Regions from separate parts of the Homo sapiens genome. Here all the other regions are linked to region 1. The links are contacts of gene promoters, found by promoter capture Hi-C in human tissues and cell types (Jung and others, 2019). All regions are on one chromosome and are shown on one strand. Each heading gives the region's core, a stretch centred on a gene start or on the middle of the fragment in contact. The rest is flanking DNA. Distances are from core to core; before and after follow the strand shown.

Evidence for each region. The method cuts DNA at HindIII sites, captures the fragments that hold promoters and counts their contacts. A contact is called where the count stands out against the background at its distance.
Region 2: a fragment that was not itself captured here is called in contact with the fragment with the promoter of LARP6 in region 1 in 1 of the 25 tissues and cell types used here (pancreas).
Region 3: a contact is called between the fragment with the promoter of THAP10 here and the fragment with the promoter of LARP6 in region 1, in 1 of the 25 tissues and cell types used here (psoas muscle).

What each region holds. Positions count from the first base shown.
Region 1 is chr15:70,852,822-70,855,550 of GRCh38, reverse strand. It overlaps LARP6 (La ribonucleoprotein 6, translational regulator), which reads left to right and starts at 1,394. Exons shown (of 3, transcript NM_018357.4): 1 at 1,394-1,662. The coding sequence starts at 1,463. It also overlaps a transcript of LRRC49 not described here. RefSeq lists an enhancer at 1,504-2,005. The HindIII fragment of the contact is 12,354 bases long and covers 1-2,729 here.
Region 2 is chr15:70,812,079-70,814,807 of GRCh38, reverse strand. No RefSeq gene overlaps it. Among named protein-coding and RNA genes, the nearest start is that of LARP6, 41 kb to the left of the region's middle. The HindIII fragment of the contact is 4,907 bases long and covers 1-2,729 here.
Region 3 is chr15:70,891,058-70,893,786 of GRCh38, reverse strand. THAP10 (THAP domain containing 10) reads left to right here and starts at 1,354. Exons shown (of 3, transcript NM_020147.4): 1 at 1,354-1,943. The coding sequence starts at 1,515. LRRC49 (leucine rich repeat containing 49) reads right to left here and starts at 961. Exons shown (of 16, transcript NM_017691.5): 1 at 845-961; 2 at 147-203. The coding sequence starts at 892. RefSeq lists an enhancer at 1,001-1,699. The HindIII fragment of the contact is 16,576 bases long and covers 1-2,729 here.

The DNA.
Region 1 (2,729 bases), core at 145-2,644:
TCATTTCCTAAGCCTATCCTAACTTGTCTTTCTATATCAAAACAAATGTATTGGTCCAGGGTTCTGTTGTTTTGGGGTCCCAGTGTGGCAAATTAATATGATAAATTATGTTTAAGGCTCTAAATAAAGTGCTACATGAAAGCAGATTCAGGTCTTATTCATTTCTTTTTCTTCTTTCCTTCTTTCTTTTTTTTTCTTTTTCTTTTTTTTTTTTTTGAGACGGAGTCTCGCTCTGTTGCCCAGGCTGGAGTGCAGTGGCACAATCTCGGCTCACCACAACCTCTGCTTCCCAGGTTCAAGTGATTCTCCTGCCTCAGCCTCCCGAGTAGCTGGGATTACAGGCACGTGCCACCACGTCCAGCTAATTTTTGTATTTTTTTTAGTAAAGACAGGGTTTCACCATGTTGGCCAGGATGGTCTCGATCTCTTGACCTCGTGATCCGCCCGCCTGGGCCTCCCAAAGTGCTGAGATTACAGGCTTGAGCCACTGCGCCCGGCCGGTCTTATTCATTTCTATGCTCCTGTCCCTAGTTTCTGGGTCACATTTGGAGAGGTGAGATGGAACTCAATTTGAAGTTACACGTGAAAAGGTGGCAGTGTTTTAGAACATCCTGACATTTCAATAGCTCCCTTTATTCATTCAACAAACATCTGAGTGCATACTATGTGCAGGGCATACTCTATAGGCCATCGGCTTTCGAACTTTTGTGAACTTCAGCATCACCTAGAGGCCTTGTTAAAACACAAAGTTCTGAATCATAGATTCTGATTCAGGAGGTCTGGATGAGCCCTGAGAATTCAATTTCTAACAAGTTCCCCGGTGCAGCTGATGCTCCTGGTCTGGGAACCACACTTGGAGAAAAACTGATACAGGGCAAGGCAGGAGCCAAGCCCCTGACCTCCTAAGACGCGGTCTAGGGTGGTTATTATGTCAAGGAGACTAACGATGGAAATTTTCTGATCTTGGCAGGCCAGTGGGGGAGACACGCAGGAGGCCTGGAAGCCCCTGGAGCTGTGGTCTCTGGCTGCCACCCCCGGAGTCAAGCACAAACAGAAGTCAGCTGTGCTGCGCCCATCCCTGCGGCGCCGTGAAAGAAGGCGCAGGAGGAGGGAGCCCTGACACCTCCTCTCGGGCTGGGGCCCCACAGCGGCGAAAAGACGGAGGGAGTGATCGGGGGTCGCGGGGATCCTTCCGGGACGGGCCTCCGTCGGAGGAGCTCCGGAAAGCCGCCCTCCACCTCCGAGGCCCCGCCTGCGCGGGCGCTCCACTAGCGGTCGGGGTGGTGGCGGCGGCGGCGGCGGCGGCGGCGGCGCGGGGCGGGGCGCCGCGACCCCTGTCCCTCCCCTGGGCCGAGCGGCAGGCGCGCTCGCACCGCCCCCGCCCCCTCGTCGCAGTCGCTGCCGACCGGCTGGCTGGGCCTTGCGGCGTGAGGACCCCGGCGGCGCCGCAGTCCCGCGAGCCATGGCCCAGTCCGGCGGGGAGGCTCGGCCCGGGCCCAAGACGGCGGTGCAGATCCGCGTCGCCATCCAGGAGGCCGAGGACGTGGACGAGTTGGAGGACGAGGAGGAGGGGGCGGAGACTCGGGGCGCCGGGGACCCGGCCCGGTACCTCAGCCCCGGCTGGGGCAGCGCGAGCGAGGAGGAGCCGAGCCGCGGGCACAGGTAGGCGCGGCGGCTGGCCCGGGAGGTGGGCCCCGAGGGGGCGCCGGGCCGCGCGCGAGTTCGGGGCGCTGACTGCGCGCGACAACTCCTCGGGCAGAGGGGGTTGAGTCAGCCCCGCCGCCGGGGAAGCAGCTCCGGGCCGAGCCCCTGAGTCAGAACCGGCCCGTGGAGGCAGCCGGTGCCCCAGCCCGCAGCTTCGTCGCCCAACCGAGGCTCCCAGGGCTGGCGGCCGGGATCTGAGGGGCCTGGACGTGGGGATGTTCAGGGATCCAGGAGGAGGACTTTCACGGGCCATCCAAGCCACCCCCTCCTCTGGAGGAGGCCTCTTCTCTGTGGGCTCCCTCAAGACACCACCTCCCCATCGCCGCAAAGTCCATCCCTACCCGCCTTCCCCTCCCCTTGCGAGTGGTCCCGCTTACCCTTCACTGCCATCATCGCCCTGCCTTTCCCAGTCCTGCTGGCTGCGCTCAGTCTTTAGGTGGTAGCAGGCCAGGTACAGCGGACACTTGCTGATGGGGGATTCCAGGAGGTGGGATTTCAAGGTAATTTGAGACGGATAGAGGACTTGCTGCTTTACTTCCTCCGCCCTGGGGGATTCCCATTTTCACACAGCCTTTCCCACCAGACCTTTATGTTTGCATCATCTTGCTGCCTTGCGGGGGGCGGGGGGGGGGTGTTCCTGGGTTTTGGGTAGTTTGGAGCTGCTATGGCACTTGTTTAACCTTGTCCCGGGTCCCGAGCTTTGTCCTCAGGCACCTTGGCTCCTGTCCACTAATGCCCAGGCCCTTAAGGACTGGTGTTTTGTTCCTGCTGTTGAAAGGAGATAAAACATAGACATAGACATGAGAGTGGGGAAATGACAGAACTTGCACATTCTGGTGGATGCCAACAGGCACTTATTAGGAGCTCTCTTTCTTCTAGGACCCTGTCCCAGGCGTTTAGCTGTTAAGGTTCTGCAGGATTGTCCTGGCAAGCGTATATCTACTTCACTGGGAGAATACTCAACTCAAGGGTGGAAGAATACTGGGCCCAGAGCCATTCTCTATTACTGGCTCACCCTTCCCCAG
Region 2 (2,729 bases), core at 102-2,601, 41 kb after region 1:
TCCTACTCCCACATCTCAGTTTTCCCCTGGCCTCCATCCCTCTGAGCTCTTTTGTCTTCTGGCAGCTCTTGGTTCCTTGTGGTCCCCAGTTCAGGTCATCACTGGGCAAGCCTGCCCCAGCATCCTGCTGCTTCCTGCACAATGATCTCCGAGCATTGGGAGGCAGCAAATGTGTCTCTCCTGTCTTCATGACATAACCACACAAAAGTGAATAAATATATCCAACTTTACTCAAGGTGGGAAAATTAAAGAAAGTCACAACATATCAGAGAAAAGTTTTAAATGGCCATCAATACCATTTTTCTTGTGCTCCCAAGGAAAACCATTCAATGAATTAAACATTTCATTGAATGGTTTTCCATGGAAAACTGGAGACTCTTTAGGTGGTGCCTTTCAGTTTTTAATCTTGTTCTTTTGACTTTATATCTACCTTCCTTTCAGAGACACAGCCTCCTTCAAACCTTCCCCCTCTGGAATGTTGCTGTGGTTCAAATGTGTCCCCCAAAAGGCATTAAGCTTAATCCCCAGTGTAACAGTATTAAGAGGTGGGACCTCTAAGAGATGAGGCCATGCGGGCTGTACCCAATGAGTGGATTGATACTGTTTTCATGAGATTGGGTTCATTATTGCAGGAATGAGTTCCTCCTGAGAAGATTACTTCAGCCCCCTTCCCTCTCACGTGTGTGCACTCTTGCCTGTGTGATGCCCTCCGCCATGTTATGACAGCAAGAAGGCCTTCCCAGATGTGGCAACTTGATCTTGGACTTCCCAGCCTCCAGAACCATGAGCCAAATAAATTTCTGTTCATTATAAATTACCCAGTCTATGGTATTCTGTTGTAGCAGCAAAAAATCCACTAAGACAGGTATGTATCCTCTCCTGTGTTTGAGAAACTTCACCTCCCACCTACAGGGACTGGTCTGTCACACAAGGCTCTCCCACACCCTACCCAACTCCCCCCGAGAGTTGATTTAGCCAAGTCTTAGTTATTCCATTCAGAATTGCACCTGGTAGCTCATCAAACTGGTCCAAGACAAACTTGGGCTCTCCAAGTCCCTCAGAGCCAGACGAGCTGTCGGGGATGCAGGGATTCATGCTTGTTTCCCCTTAAGTTGTCCCTACCAAAGTGAATGGAAAAGAGATGTCTTTATTCCTCCTAATGCTCCTGGAATAATAGTCGGTGCATGCACACACTCTCCCCTGACAAACATTAATTCCCAGAAATAGCATAGATTTTACCTTTAAAAAGAAAACAAACCTTATTTTTCCCAAACTGTCCATACTCTACCAGGCTGTGCCTTGGAGTTTCACTTTACATCGTTTTGGTGACCAGAATGTATTCTTTTGCTCAATTTTCCATCCATCCTACCTTCAAATGGTGCTCCCTTCGACTGACCAAGAATAAGAAAAGGGGCCTGTTGGCCATATACCTTTGCTAGTAACTTGTAAAGCGTCTCAAAGACCCCCCCCCCGCCCCATTGCCCCAAAAGCTTGGAAAGTATTATTTATAATGTGAGAGACAAATGAAGTTTTTAGATGATGGAGCCATGCATGCTGTTCTCCAATTTCTGTCCCAATGTGGTGAGGGGGCAGAGGTGTGTGTGTCTGTGTGTGTGTGTGTGTGTGTGTCTGTGTGTGTATGCGCATGCAGGAAGGTTGGGAGGGTAATTCTTCCAGTTATAATAGCAATAAAAATGGTGATGACTGACCCGTCCTAAATGTTATAGCATCTCTCATTCCTGACCCAGAGAGCTATAAAAATACCAGTGCCTCACCCTGCACTATTAAATCAGAGTCTCTGGGAGGTAAAGCCTGGGCATTGTGGTTTTTAAAAGCCTGCAGGTGATTCCAATGTGCAGCCAGGACTGAGAACCACTGGGAAATTGCCACAGCTGGAAAAAGTCACCTTTTGATTCACCTGAAATGAATGATGCAGACTAAGGTAGCATTGTTCCATCAGGCTCCTTTCAGCATCCAAGATTCTGGGTAAAACCTCAAATAGAATGGGGTGTGAGGGTACTGGCTTCCCACGATGCAGTTGGTATGGAGGGTCTGGAATGGCAGTCACCACCAATCCCAGGAAGAGGCTCCCACAGCATAGGCAGACCCTTATTTTTTTTTTTTTTTTTTTTTTTTTTGGAGATGGAGTCTCACTATGTCGCCCAGGCTGAAGTGCAGTGGTGCGATCTCGGCTCACTGCAAGCTCCGCCTCCCGGGGTTCACGCCATTCTCCTGCCTCAGCCTCCCGAGTAGCTGGGACTACAGGCGCCCGCCACCACGCCTAGCTAATTTTTTGTGTGTTTTTAGTAGAGACGGGGGTGTCACCGTGTTAGCCAGGATGGTCTCGATATCCTGACCTCGTGTTCCGCCCGTCTCGGCCTCCAAAAGTGCTGGGATTACAGGCTTGAGCCACCGCGTCCGGCTAGCAGACCCTTATTCTTAATGTAAAGTTATGACTGCAATTATTGTACAGTGCCTGATACAGAGCGGACCTCAACAAATACAGTACTTGAAATAAATACGACCACAGAGAGTAAACAAGCAGTTACTCTCTTCTACCACAAGATGGCAACATTTCAAGACTCACTCTAGAACAATGCTCAAGTCTCAACTGCCAAAATGAAAAGGATGCACGGTTGATAAACGACGAAGCTAGGTGAGTTTTCCTCGATTTTTATTTTTCACCCTTTATCTTTTTAAATAAGTGGAGCCAGGAGCAATGGCTCATG
Region 3 (2,729 bases), core at 105-2,604, 38 kb before region 1:
AAGTAAGAACTAGCTTTAAACTGGAAATCAAAGCAAATCTACTTAAATTTTTCAGTTTAGAATCTATCTACACTTTAAGTCATGCTGCTATTTGTGTAGAATTTAAAACAATCTTCAATTTAAATGCCAACCTTCTTAAATCTTACTTTGTTTTTTTCAGGAAGCGATGATGTTTGAATAACCAGATGAAGCCCGCAGTTCACCTGAAATGTAAAAATTAAACCATAAAATTTGCTCTTAATACACAAACACATATTTCCAAAAAAAAAAAAGGTACAAACAGAAATACAACAAAAAAATAGAACACAATGCTCTATTTCTGTTTCTGGTAAATGATCTTGTTCTGAGGATTTGCTGAAAACAATAAAATCACATCTAAGAATTAAAAGGTTTCACTGATTTATTTTCCAAAATGTCGGCAGCAATTTAACCCTCTAGTTAGTACCTCAGGCTTTCGACATTTGCCATTCAGGTCTAAATAAACATCTCAATGAGACAGGTGAAGGAGGTGGGAGTCCCTAATGATAAATTCTCTTCACAGTTAAAAGGAAAAGAAAAGAAAAAGGAATTGACTGGCCAAAGGAATTTAAATAAACCCAAGCCTTTCACAGCAGACCAGCTCCACCTTCTGGGGAGCCCAGATCCTGGACAAGACTTTGAGTACCCATCATACAATATTAAATTGTGCCTTGGTCCAGCCCACGAACCTCAAACCCTGGTCAGACAATAGCTTGAGTAGACCCAGCGGTGCCGGTCCTAATAATACAGCCCATCTCCTAGGACAAAGACGCCAGTCAGAAAGAGTACCAGTGGGAAGAAAGAGAAAGTAGAAGGCCCAACTTACGTTGTTCGCAGCCCGGCCAGAAACAGAGCGATATTTCCCGGGAATCATGATAGGAGACAGTCCAGGTTCTCTGTTAGATCTGCCTTCCAGGTGACGCTACAGCGGAGATTCAAAGAGACCCGAAAGAGGTCATCTCCCAGGCAACCTGCTCAGGGTTACCATGGAAACGACCATTTCCGGTCTGGACCTCTCCCGAATCGATAGAGCCACACAGTCGTTGCAGCTTCTAGTTGTATTCGTGAGAGCCCAGTGCGTCACCACTTCCTCGTTCTATTTTCCCAGCCTCATAAAAACAGAGCGGGAGTATTGGGAGGAGGATAAGCTGGGGAAGAGGCTGGCCACACTGGTTGCTATAACCACCACCACTTCCGGTCCGTTCCTCTTTACGGCCCACCTCAGCGCTGCCCGCGCGAAATTTGTATCCCTCTGCTTGTGTCCACTGGCTCCTGGGGAGCAGCGCAGGGAGGAGGAGGAGGAAGATATCAAAGAGCCCTCCCATTGGGGGCCCCAGATCGCCACTTCCGGTGACCAGAGGTAGGGAAGGAAACAATCCCGACCCGGAGTGGACAGGTGAGGAGGGGAGGACTTGCCTCGCCGAGGCCGCTGCGAGGAGCGTGCCCAAGGGCGAAGGTCCAGGGAACCCGGCTCCCGCGCACCGAAGACGGCCGCCATGCCGGCCCGTTGTGTGGCCGCCCACTGCGGCAACACCACCAAGTCTGGGAAGTCGCTGTTCCGCTTTCCCAAGGACCGGGCCGTGCGGCTGCTCTGGGACCGCTTCGTGCGGGGTTGCCGCGCCGACTGGTACGGAGGCAATGACCGCTCGGTCATCTGCTCTGACCACTTTGCCCCAGCCTGTTTTGACGTCTCTTCGGTTATCCAGAAGAACCTGCGCTTCTCCCAGCGCCTGAGGCTGGTGGCAGGCGCCGTGCCCACCCTGCACCGGGTGCCCGCCCCGGCACCTAAGAGGGGAGAGGAGGGAGACCAAGCAGGCCGCCTGGACACGCGAGGAGAGCTCCAGGCAGCCAGGCATTCTGAGGCTGCCCCAGGTCCAGTCTCCTGTACACGCCCCCGAGCTGGGAAGCAGGCTGCAGCTTCACAGGTAAAGAGAGACCACCGAAGGTTGTGTAAGGACCCCTGGACTCTGGCTGGGCTCCTCCACTTAGTGTCACCTTGGGAAAGGCACCTCATCTCGAAAGTTCCTGTTTTCTAATCTGCAAAGTTAGGGGTGTGCTTTAGAGGTGATCTCCAAGGTCCCACTTATCATTAACACTTTGGAATTAAGTGACCCAGTTAATTCCTTCTAACTGCTCCTCCCCCAAAACTCACACACACACACACACACACACACACACACACACACACACACACACACACAGAGTCTTGTCCTGCAGAGTAGTGAGTTGCTTTCACTCGCTGCTCCAGAGTTTTTAAATAGAAAGGGTTTAATTTGAGCAAATCTCCAGGATTGGAGTGCTTGAAACTGTGTTGCATAACATTACATAAGCTTGAGGAAAGTCCCTTATTTGTGTCACAAATGATGGGGCGAAGGAGATGTGGAGCTACAGATGAAGATGATGGAGCTTGCTAATAAATCCCTTCCCACCCCAAGCTTCCTTTATGACTGATAACTAGCTCCAGCTGCCTTTAAGTTCAGTATCCCTAGTGAGCTGACTTTCCCCATCTTGCTCTCTTCTGCCTACTTTTCTGTTCCTTCTAAACATTGTTTGCACTCATTTTGCATCTGGTTACTACTACCTTCTTCCCCACGTACCATTTTAAAGAAAACTTTCCAGCCTTCCTTGTGATAAACTTCAGCCTTGCCACCATTACACAGATTAAATTATAGCAAGAGGTTAGTAATTTCCTCAGGGGTCTGTAATCCTTA